3 separate regions of the Homo sapiens genome follow, and regions 2 and 3 are each linked to region 1. The links are contacts of gene promoters, found by promoter capture Hi-C in human tissues and cell types (Jung and others, 2019). All regions are on one chromosome and are shown on one strand. Each heading gives the region's core, a stretch centred on a gene start or on the middle of the fragment in contact. The rest is flanking DNA. Distances are from core to core; before and after follow the strand shown.

Region 1 (3,653 bases), core at 1,103-3,602:
GTGCCTGAGCTACTCTTGGGGGTGACAGCCAGCCTGTGACAGAACCTACAACACGGAGGGTGCACAGAGCAGGAGGCTTTATTGAGGGAGATACAGAAGCGGGCGTGGGCTCTCGTGCCAGCCAGGCCGCGGCCTCCACTCGTCCCACACGGCCCTGCGGCTCCTGCACACCCCTCCCTCCCGGGCTCCTGGACAGCAGGCAACATAGAGGAGTCTTACCCAGCCTTGGCAGAGGTGCCGGGAGGGCCTTCAGAGTCTGTCCAGGGGAGGGTTGGGGGGACACAGGACAGCCCTTCTGTGCTGTCGATGACATGCCTGCCACATCTACCCATCTGTCCACCGCCTGGTCCATCTCTGCCTGAGGGGCCCTCCTGTCACTTGCAACTCTGGAGCCGGGTCCTGTGGTGCTTCTCCTCGGTCAGGAGGGGGATGAAGGTGTCGCTGTGGGAGAGCTTCAGCCGGCTGCTGCAGCTCGGCGCCTCCTTCCCCGCAGGCTCTGGAGGGAGGTTGTCCAGGTCACTGCGGGAGCCCCCGGTCTTGCCCTCGCCCCCGCTGCTGGAGTTGAGTTCCATCAGCTCCAGCTCGTGCTTGGCCGCGGTCTCCAGGACGCGCTGCTTGTTGTAGTACCTGACAAAGTTGTTGATGATGGGGTGGATGGGCAGGGCGATGGCGATGACACCACACAAGAAGCTGATGGCCGCGTTGAGCTTGCCCAGCGTGGTCTTGGGGTAGATGTCGCCGTAGCCGACGGTGGTCATGGTGATGATGGCCCACCAGAAGGACTGGGGGATGCTCTTAAACAGGGTCTCTGGATGGCTCTGCTCCATGGTGTAGCCCAGGGCAGAGAAGACGAAGATACCCACTGCCAGGTACATGAGCAGCAGCCCCAGTTCCTTGAAGCTGCGCTTGAGGGCATAGGTGAGGGTCTGCAGGCCCGAGGAGTGGCGGGCCAGCTTGAAGATGCGCGCGATGCGCATGATCCGCAGCGCCTGCACGGCCTGCTGCACGTTGGTCAGCTCCATCATGCGGGCACCCAGGTGCGTGAGCGTGAGGCTCACGTAGAAGGGGAGGATGGCCAGCACGTCCACAATGTTCATGAAGGACAGCGCGAAGTGCAGCTTGTTGGGTGACGAGAAGAGGCGCAGCAGGTACTCCAGGGTGAACCAGCCAATGCACGCCGTCTCCACGTTCTCCAGCGTCGGGTGCTCCACGCGGTTGCCCTCGGCGTCCAGCACCTGCAGCTCGGGGATGGTGCCCATGCACATGACCACGGACGAGACGAGGATGAGCAGGAAGGAGAGCACGGCCACCACCCGCGCCGGGCACGACGACTCGGGCTTCTCCAGGAACTTCCAGACGCACTTCTGGCAGCGGCGCCAGCGGCCCTCGGCTGCGTCCACGCCCAGGTCGTCCAGGATGAGCTGCACGCGGCGCGCGATCTCCTCCAGCTCCTCGCGCTTCTCGCTCAGGTGGCTCTTGCAACAGTCGTCCAGGAACTTGAGGTCCACCTTCCAGAAGTCCATCTCGTTCTTGAAGCAGATGGGGCAGATGCCCTTCTTCATGTGGACCTCCCCGAAATAGTACACCTCGATGACACACTTGAAGGCGTCCGGGTCCCTGTCAAAGTAGAACTCGCGCTTGCCGGGGTCGTAGTCGTCGCACAGGGAGAAGATGGTGTCGTAGCCCCCAGCCAAGCAGTTGATGAGCTCCGCCAGCCGGGTCTCAGGGTACTGACTGAGGAGGTCCCCGTACAGCACCTGCCGCACGCCCCCCACGTTGACGACTATCTCTATGTCGTCGCTGGCAGCGGAGCTCTGGCTGCCCGGCTCCGGGAGGCTGCGCTCCCCGGACCCGTCCATCCTCCCCGCGCGCGCCCTCGCAGCCTCCGCCCCGCGCCCCCTGCAGCCGCCGCCGCCGCTGCCGCTGGGGGTCCGGCGGGTGCCACCCGTGCGCTGATCTCGGGGAGAGCCTGGCCGGCGCCCGCCTGCGGGGAAGGGCGGTCACAGCGGGCAGCAGCCTGCGGGGGCGCGCCGCGGGGGAGGCATGCACCCGGCGGCGGGGCTCGGGGCTGGCATCCGGGCGCCCGGGCGAGCCCGCGGGGGCTTTGGCGGCCGCCGGCCTCGCCCGGGGCACTCACCCCGGCTGGCTGGCGGCGCGCTCCGCCGCTTCAGCTCGGCCTCCTGCGGGAGCGGGGTCTCCTCGTGGGCGGCTGGCACCGTCCTCCGCCCCGGGGCGCGCAGGCAGCGGCGGCAGGTCCCGGAGCTGGCGGACCCACGCCGTCCGCGAGGTGCTCGAGGTGTGCAGAGAGCGAACTTGGGCTGGCTTTGCCCGAGCCTTTTCTAAACACAATAGGAATTCCAGCCTGACGTCAGGAGCTTTTCAAACTGTACCCTCTTCTGGTGAAATTCTGCAAGGCACGCGCGGCAGCTGCAGGGGACGGATTAACCCTTGGGCAGACGGGCACAGCTGCCGCGCCCGCCGCCACCACCGCGCACCGCCGGCCCCTCCTCGGGCGCAGCGGGTCACCGAGGGGTTGCGACCTGGCTTGAAGCGGCAGGCATTCTCTCTCACTGCTGTTTGGAGAGGATTAGTGGGGAGAGAATGCTGCCGCCTGTTGCTGGGCAGGAAAATGTGCTCCAGGAAGCCCCTTAGAAGGTGACTCCTATGTCTGGGTCCCTCCTCCGGCCTTAGACCCGCGCCGGCTTTTCCTGGTGGGAGGAAAATCCTGCCTGATCCTTGAAGCGTTTCCTGCCCCATCCCCCCGACCCAGCAATGCCCTGCTGTGTTGGTGGCACTGTCTCACCTTCCCCGCAACGCTGTACAAGGAGGACATCTAGTCCAGCCTCCTGTAGAAGGGAAGGGACTTGCCCAAGGTCACGCGGCGGAATGAGAGCAGAGCTCAGCTTGACCGCCTCCTGATCCCGAGCTTTCCGGCTGTCCCAGCTGACCGACGCCTGCTGTTCAGCAGATTTCAATTCTGCCTTGAAGTCCCTGCCGTCTGGCACCTCCTATCTCTCTGCAGTCCCACACCAAGGCCACTAGCTTCCAGACCCCTAGGGTCCAGTGGCTCCTGCTTCCCCGTTCCTCACTCCTTGACCAAGGCCTGTCTCTTCCTGACCAGTGTCCCACACCCTCCTCTCTTCCAGCCTTTGCAGCCACAGCTGTCCTTCTGTCCTCACTCACCTGAACCACTACAGCAGCTTCCTAACAGTGTCTCTCTCCTCCGGTTCACCACTATCATCAATACTGCAAATTACTGATATCATCTATGGCCTCGAGATCGTGTTAAAAATATTCTGGAGGGAAGAATGAATAGGCAGAGCAGAGGATTTTTAGGGCAGTGAAACGTACCATAATGGCGGATATGTGTCGTTATGCAATGGTCAAAATCCATAGAATGTTCACCACCAGGAGCGAATGTTAATGCAAACTCGGTGCTGGGCGATGATGACGTGTCCATGTGGGGTGGTCCACCATGACAAGTGTCCCACCCTGTGTGAGATGTTGATGCGCAGGGGAGAGCTGTGGAGACAGGGGGCATGTGGGAATTCTCTGTACTTTCTGTTGAATTGTGCTCTAAAATATAAAGTCTATTTAAAAATGTATTCTGTAGGCTGGGTTTTTTAAAACTTAAGGACATGTCCGTTAATGGA
Region 2 (3,623 bases), core at 746-3,245, 130 kb before region 1:
AGCAAAATAGTTCATCCAAGGTGATGAGATCCTTCTAAGTCAGTGGCAGCTCTAGAATCTGGTCAGGTCTGCCTTTCTCCACGCCTCTGCTCTTGGCTACCATACTGTGACATCCCCCACAGCAATCATCATCAAAGAGCAGAACATGGAGCCATTATCAGTAATGTACACCTCAGTATGAATTAGTTTATTCGTATTAGCAATTCATATCTCTTTAGCACTTTACAATTTGCAAAGCACTTGGGTGTATACTATGCTGCTTGATGTTTATAACAGCCCTGCAAAGTAGGTATCATCACCCCCAGTTTTACAAGGGGAGAAATTGGTGTTCAGATGTTTGCTCAATGTCATCTAGTTAGTGAATGGTGGGATAGTAGATTGTACGCAGTCAGGCCTCCCAGTTGTCAAGTCCATTTCTATCCACCACCACAAGCAAACTTCCTGAGCACCTAGCTGAGAGCAGGGCATTGAGGGAACAACAGCGTGAAGATATATATATACACACACGCACACGTGTATATACATATGCATACATACATATATACGAATATGTATAATTAAAGTAAAAAGATAATTTTTTTTTTTTAGACAGAGTCTCACTCTGTCACCCAGGCTGGAGTGCAGTGGCACGATCTCAGCTTACTGCAACCTACAGCTCCCAGGTTCAAGTGATTCTCCTGCCTCTGCCTCCCGAGTAGCTGGGATTACAGGCACCTGCCACCCTACCCAGCTCTTATATATATATATATATATATATACATATATATATTTTCTGTATATATATATATATACATACATATATATATTTTCTGTATATATATATACAAACACACATATATATTTCCTGTATATATATATACATACATATATATCTTTTCTGTATATATATATATACACATACATATATATATATATATATTTTTTTTTTCTGTATTTTTAGTAGAGACAGGGTTTCACCATCCTGGCCAGGCTGGTTTCAAACTCTTGACCTCAAGTGATCCGTCTACCTCGGCCTCTCAAAGTGCTAGGATTACAGGCATGAGCCACCACTCTTGGCCTTAAAGCAAATTTTTAAACTAAAGAGAAACCAAATAAAAAAACTGAATGTAGTTTTACCCTAAAACTCAAAAAACTTTTTAAAAACATAAAAAAAATCTTTAAAAAAGAGCACAATTTAAGATTAAGTTTGGATCAGTACCGTGACACCAGTCTGAATAGGACTAGAATAGCTACTGAAAGCACAAATTGGATTTGTCCTGTGCTCAGCTGACTCTGAGCTTTGCGTCCACTTTTCTTTCAATATGGAACACTCCTCTTTTCCACCTTATCTGTCAAAACAGAGCTCATGCTTCCAGACCAAGTGCAAACATCACTCCCATCATATTGCCTGTCTTAATCTGCCAGCAAGAAGGGAATTCTCCCTCAGAGTTTCTGAGCACTTTGTTTTCAAGGCTAAAATTGATTTAACTTTATAATCATTTTCACTTTTTACTTTAAGTTCACAGAATGTACAAAACCTTAAAATACAACTTATAAAAGTTGTTGGCCAGGCACAGTGACTCACAACTGTAATCCCAGCATTTTGGGAGGCCGAGGCCAGAGGATTGCTTGAGCCCAGGAGTTTGAGACCAGCCTGGGCAACATGGTGGCACCCTGTCTCTACAAAAAATGCAAAAATTAGCTGGATGTGGTCGTGCATGCCTGTATTCCCAGCTACTGAGGAGGCTGAGGTGGGAGGATCACTTGAGCCCAGGAGGTCTGAGGCTGCAGTGAGCCTTGAGCCTGCCACTGCACTCCAGCCTGGGTGACAGCCAGACACCGTGTCCAAAAAAAGTTACCAAATAAGTTGAAACAACACTAACAAATTCTGCATATCACAGCATATTCAATGTCTCTTTAGATAAATGCTAAATTTGATAAGTTTTATCACACACATATTTTATGAATACTGTATCTTTTAGTTAAAAGCTTTGTTTTGAGATAATTGTAGGCTTACAAGCCATTCCAAGAAATAACACAGAGAGCTCCAATGTTCCTTTTATCCATTTCCCACTGATAATGACATCTTACAGAACTATGGCACAGTATCCCAACCAGGATATTGACATTGGTACAATACACCCATACACCCAGCTTATTCCGATTCCTCATTTTTCCTTGCACCCATTAGTGTGTGTGTTTATGTAGTTCTGTGCAGCCTTAAGGACATGGGTAGGTTCACATCTCCCCCACAACAATCAAGCACAGAACAGTTACATCTCCGCAAGGATCCCTCCTGTTGCCCTTTTACAACCATGGCCGCCTCCCCCCAGCCTCCCTTCCCTAACCCGTGGTGATCACCAATATGTTTTTCATTCTATAGTTTTGTTGTTTCAAGGATGTTATATAATGGAGTCAGACAGTGTGTGACCTTTTGGGATTAGCTTTTTCATCTGAGCTTTTCGTAGAACTGCAATCATTATGTTTGAGTACTGCTTCTACCACTTGCTCAAGTTACTTAAACATCGTGTTCCTCAGTTTCCTCGCCTATAAAGTGCAGAAGATAATGTCTATTTGATAAGACTTATCTGTAACTTGGCCTACTGTTGGCTGCAAGGCGATTGTGGTTGTTCACTTGACCCATTTGTGATGCTGGACTGTGAGCTTCTTGTAGGCCTCGGCTACAGATGCTCCTGGAAGACGCTGACCATTGCTGTCTTCTAGATCAGAGGCTCCCAACCCCTGAGCCACAGAACGGTCCTGGTCTGTGGCCTGTTAGGAACTGGGCCACACAGCAGGAGGTGAGTGACGGGTGAGGGAGTGAGGCTTCATTTGTATTTATAGCTGCTCCCCATTGCTCAAATCATTGCCTGAGCTTCACCTCCTGTCAAATCAGCGGTGGCATTAGATTCTCATAGGAGTGTGAACACTATTGTGAACTGCCCATATGAGGGATCTAGACTGTGAGATCCTAATGAGAATCTAATGCCTGATGATCTGTCACTGTTTTCTGTCACCCCCAGATGGGACTGTCTAGTTGCAGGAAAACAAACACAGGGATCCCTCTGATTCTACCTTATGGTGAGTTCTGTAATTACTTCATTATATATTATTAGGTAATAATACTAGAAATAAAGTGCACAATACATGTAATGTGTTTGATTCATCCTGAAGCCACTCCCCATCCCCGGTCCATGGAAAAATTGTCTTCCACGAAACCAGTTCCTGGTGCCAAAAATGGTGGGGACTGCTGCCCTAGATCATCTTTGTGGGATGCCAGGGGTTAGGTTGGCCTGGAAAAGACCCTTTCAACTGAGAAGTTGCTGTTCACTCTCAGTGGGAGAAGAGAACAGGCACTGGAAGGAGGTGGCACACTGGCACATATATGTGTCAGTGTCACGGTAGGATCTGGAGTCAGAGAGAAGGCTCCTGGAAATACAAGAACGGAGAATTCGCTTTTTTGCCAATTTAATGCTGGGAACGCCCACCTAGAGAGGAATCCTGAAAATGCCCATCAAGAGAGGTATATTATTCCATTCTCACATTGCTATAAAGAAATACTGCAATTGGGTAACTTATTAAGAAAAGAGGTAGAATTCATGGTCCTGCAGACTGTGCAGGAAGCATAGTGGCTTCTGCTTCTG
Region 3 (3,577 bases), core at 755-3,254, 190 kb before region 1:
CCCCAGGCCACGCGTCAGCATGGGCCATGTCCCCACATAGGTGAGTCCCTGATGCAGGTTGGGTCCCCGGGGAAGCTCACTCAGAGACAGAAGAGTGTTTATTGGTGGCGGGGCAGTGCTCTTGGGTTTAGGGTCTGTGAAGGGAGAGAAGGAAAGCCAGTGGGGTAGAGGGAGTCGTCGGGCAGTGATGCCCTAACCGCTGGTCCCTGGGGAAGCTCTGGAGCTGGCACACCCCTTCAGGGTTGTCCCGAGTGGAGCCTGGGGCCAGGCCTTTATCCACAGTGTGGGCCGCCACCAGGTGCAGGTGCCCAGGAGGGGCGTGTTATGGGTTGAATTGTGTCCCTCCAAAAAGATACATTCAAGTCCCAAGCCCCGCTACGTGTGAATGTGACAAATCCACTGTAGAAACCAGCATTCAGATCTCAGGTCTGCACAGCTGAAATCAGCATTCAGATCTCAGCTCTGCACAGCCGAAACCAGCATTCAGATCTCAGGTCTGCACAGCCGAAACCAGCATTCAGATCTCATCTCTGCACAGCTGAAACTAGCATTCAGATCTCATCTCTGCACAGCCGAAACCAGCATTCAGGTCTCAGGTCTGCACAGCCGAAACCAGCATTCAGATATCATCTCTGCACAGCCGAAACCAGCATTCAGATCTCATCTCTGCACAGCCGAAACCAGCATTCAGATCTCAGGTCTGCACAACCAAAACCAGCGTTCAGATGTCAGCTCTGCACAACCACAACCAGCATTCAGATGTCAGCTCTGCACAACCACAACCAGCATTCAGATCTCAATTCTGCACAACTGTGATCACTATTGAGAGCAGTGACTGTTACATGGATTTAGAGACACGTTGTGGGGGTTATACGACCACGTATTACTGTGCAAAAAGACGTCACTCAAGCCCATTAGTGCAGAGGTTCCTTTAACTGTGGAGGATTAAATCAAGGAATCAGAGATTGTTTACGCCGGAAGGGACTTTGAGGTGTTCACTTAATTGGAAAGCAGGTCATCGTGGGCCCTCCATGGGTGTTGGTATCCACTGAAACTCCAAATCCCATCCAGGGGAGGCTGACACAGGCACCAGGTGTAAGGCCCCACCCCAGCCGGGCTCACCTCTGCGGGCAAGCCTGGGGCCTGGCCGGGAAGCCCAGCATGGTGCGTGTGAATGCTGTGGTGGGGGGGCGCCCCAAACTCCCCCTCCAAGACAGAGGCACAGGCATCGCCTCCCAGGACTCACCTGGAGGGGGCTGCCTGGCGTAAGCTCATGCTCCTCCCGTGCCACCTGCTTTAGTGGCTGATTGCTATGCCAGGTAACGTCAGGGCCACCTGCCTGATTCAGGCTGCTGTGCAGCCGCGCAGACTCAGAGCTGCCTGTGAGCCTGGCTGAGGCCTTTACTGCTCATTCCCACTGCCCTCACCCCTGGCGGGGGCTGGTCTCCAGGGCACCCCCATAATCCACTTGCACCCAGATCTCCGTCTCCAAGTGCGCTCCAAACCCAGCCCCAGCGTGTGGACAATGGCATCCTTCTTGCACATGCTGGGGTAATTGATGGCTGTATCTGCTCTGAGACGGCAGAGTGGGCTAGCTCCCAGCCCCAACAAACGGCCCTCTGCGCCCTCCACACACACTCAGCATAGGCTCAGCAGCCTGGGGAAGAAGAAAGCCGCTCTGCTCCGTGCTCTGGGTGCCCAGCCCTGTGAACAGCACGGGGTGTCCCCACGGCTCACTGTGCCTCCTCCTGGCCCATGTCCACTCCGGCATGCTGTTCACAGACACGGCCCAGGCCTCTGTCCCCACAGCTTTATTATTTTTTAAATGTTATCAGTTATTTAATTAGGTTCTTAAGAAATTTAGAACACCAATTTGTGAGGATAAATTCCATTCCTCAGAACAAACACAGATCTCAGGTAGCCCTGGAGCTAAGGAATAACTTTGATTTTTGGTAAAATCTGTGAGTCCACAGCTTTCTGATCAATCTTGCGCTGCCCTGTGATCTCGTATTTCTCTTTTTCTGTGTCGAAGATCTCACCTTCCTGGTGTCTGGGCTTCCGCAGCTGCTGCTTCTTGAAGCAAGCATCAGTGAGATGTTTTGGGATTTTTACATTGCTGATGTCAGTTTTGGTTGAGGTGGCAATGACAAATGTCTGGTGTGTTCTTCATAGAGGAACTCGATTGAGGACCAGAGGTCCAGTCCTAAATACCAAGCCGCTAGCCAGCTGCTTCAAGAAAACCACCCTCTTGCCTCTGTGGCATCCAGTGAAGATGATTAGAATGGCTTCGGGGGTAATGCTGGCTCACAGTTTTCTCACGTGCTGACTGAAAGTTTTTTTGCCGTGGCTCAACAGCTTTCGAGGCGCATCTCCGGTAGGGTAATATCTAGGCATTTTGTTAACCACCCAGGACCACCGTTCTTGTCACCACCAACTGGTTTGTAACAGTTGCAAGAACCTTCTCCTTTTTCTTTTCAACCTTGGACTTCGCAGCTAAGTACTTCCTCTTCCACGTGGCCTTTCTGGAATACATGGCAGGTTGGGAATACCTGCCAACTCCTCTGACAAGGACGGGATTGAGGCTGCAATGGGGCTTCCCCTTCTTGAGTTTTTCAGTCTTGAGGTGATGCCTTTTCACCTTGCCACCAGCATCAGCCTTCTTTGCTTCAGGTTTCTTCTCTTTAGTATCCGGCTTCTCAACTTTTTCACCTGCCATCTTGCAAGATGGGAAAGAGCTTTCCTACAGCTTTGCTTCCAAGGCAGGAGCTGAGCTTTCTTCTCTGCAAAGGGCCTTATAGAGAATGTTCTCTGGTCTTCTTTTCTTCCTTCTGCAAACTCTTCTCCAAGGGGCCAGATGCTGGAGATGATGGGACTGTCTTTTAATCTAGGGAGGGGTTATCATTAGCCTGTGGTGCTAATTACATGAATTCTTAAAGCCCACATGAGCACACTGCACCCAAGGTGCAAAGAGAATGCAGCCCCTTTGTTTCTACTGGCTAGCATTGTCTCTTGGGGATGCCACAGTCTCTTGACGGACACGTGGTCAGCACTGCAGACCTCCCTTCTTCCCCTCAGCCCCTGATCCTCTCTGAGTGGGGGTGGTACATGTGGTGGGGGAAGGAGAGCACCTGGTCTCTAGGCAGGTGGCTGTTCTGCCCTTGGGTGGGCCCTGGCTGCTGGAGGCTTAGGTGGTGGGTCTGTCTTGTCCTGCCCCTGGGCAGCCTGGTGGGCTGTTGCAGAAGCCTGTGGCTGCTATCATCTGTGGTCTGGGGAGCTCAGCCCTCCACCCTGGCTGATGATGTCCTGGCTGCTCTGGAGGTGCCCTGACGTCTGGTTGGAACTTCCATTTGATTCTTGGCTCAAACAGTCCCATTGACTGATTGCGCCCTTGGCTTCAGAGTCCCTTTACCCCCATGAAAATGACTTTCTCTGACAGGTCCCCATGCCTCAGCTAATAGGTACCTAGGGGTTCCTGCCATAACACATGGAGCTGGGCAGACCCTGAGTGTCACCTTGGGCTCTTTTTGAGTCTCTGTATTTACCCAGCTGCCCTGGCCTGGGTGGAAGTTGGGAGTCC

The links. The method cuts DNA at HindIII sites, captures the fragments that hold promoters and counts their contacts. A contact is called where the count stands out against the background at its distance.
Region 2: a fragment that was not itself captured here is called in contact with the fragment with the promoter of KCNF1 in region 1 in 4 of the 25 tissues and cell types used here (IMR-90 fibroblasts, mesendoderm cells, neural progenitor cells and 1 more).
Region 3: a contact is called between a fragment that was not itself captured here and the fragment with the promoter of KCNF1 in region 1, in 2 of the 25 tissues and cell types used here (IMR-90 fibroblasts and pancreas).

What each region holds. Positions count from the first base shown.
Region 1 is chr2:10,910,633-10,914,285 of GRCh38, reverse strand. It overlaps KCNF1 (potassium voltage-gated channel modifier subfamily F member 1), which reads right to left and starts at 2,352. Exons shown (of 1, transcript NM_002236.5): 1 at 61-2,352. The coding sequence starts at 1,859. The coding sequence ends at 375. The HindIII fragment of the contact is 13,350 bases long and covers 1-3,653 here.
Region 2 is chr2:11,044,590-11,048,212 of GRCh38, reverse strand. No RefSeq gene overlaps it. Among named protein-coding and RNA genes, the nearest start is that of FLJ33534, 86 kb to the left of the region's middle. The HindIII fragment of the contact is 4,621 bases long and covers 1-3,623 here.
Region 3 is chr2:11,101,281-11,104,857 of GRCh38, reverse strand. All of the region lies in intron 8 of FLJ33534 (Putative uncharacterized protein FLJ33534), which reads left to right. It also overlaps the pseudogene RPL6P4. Among named protein-coding and RNA genes, the nearest start is that of FLJ33534, 29 kb to the left of the region's middle. RefSeq lists enhancers at 720-869, 890-1,059, 1,070-1,149. The HindIII fragment of the contact is 9,721 bases long and covers 1-3,577 here.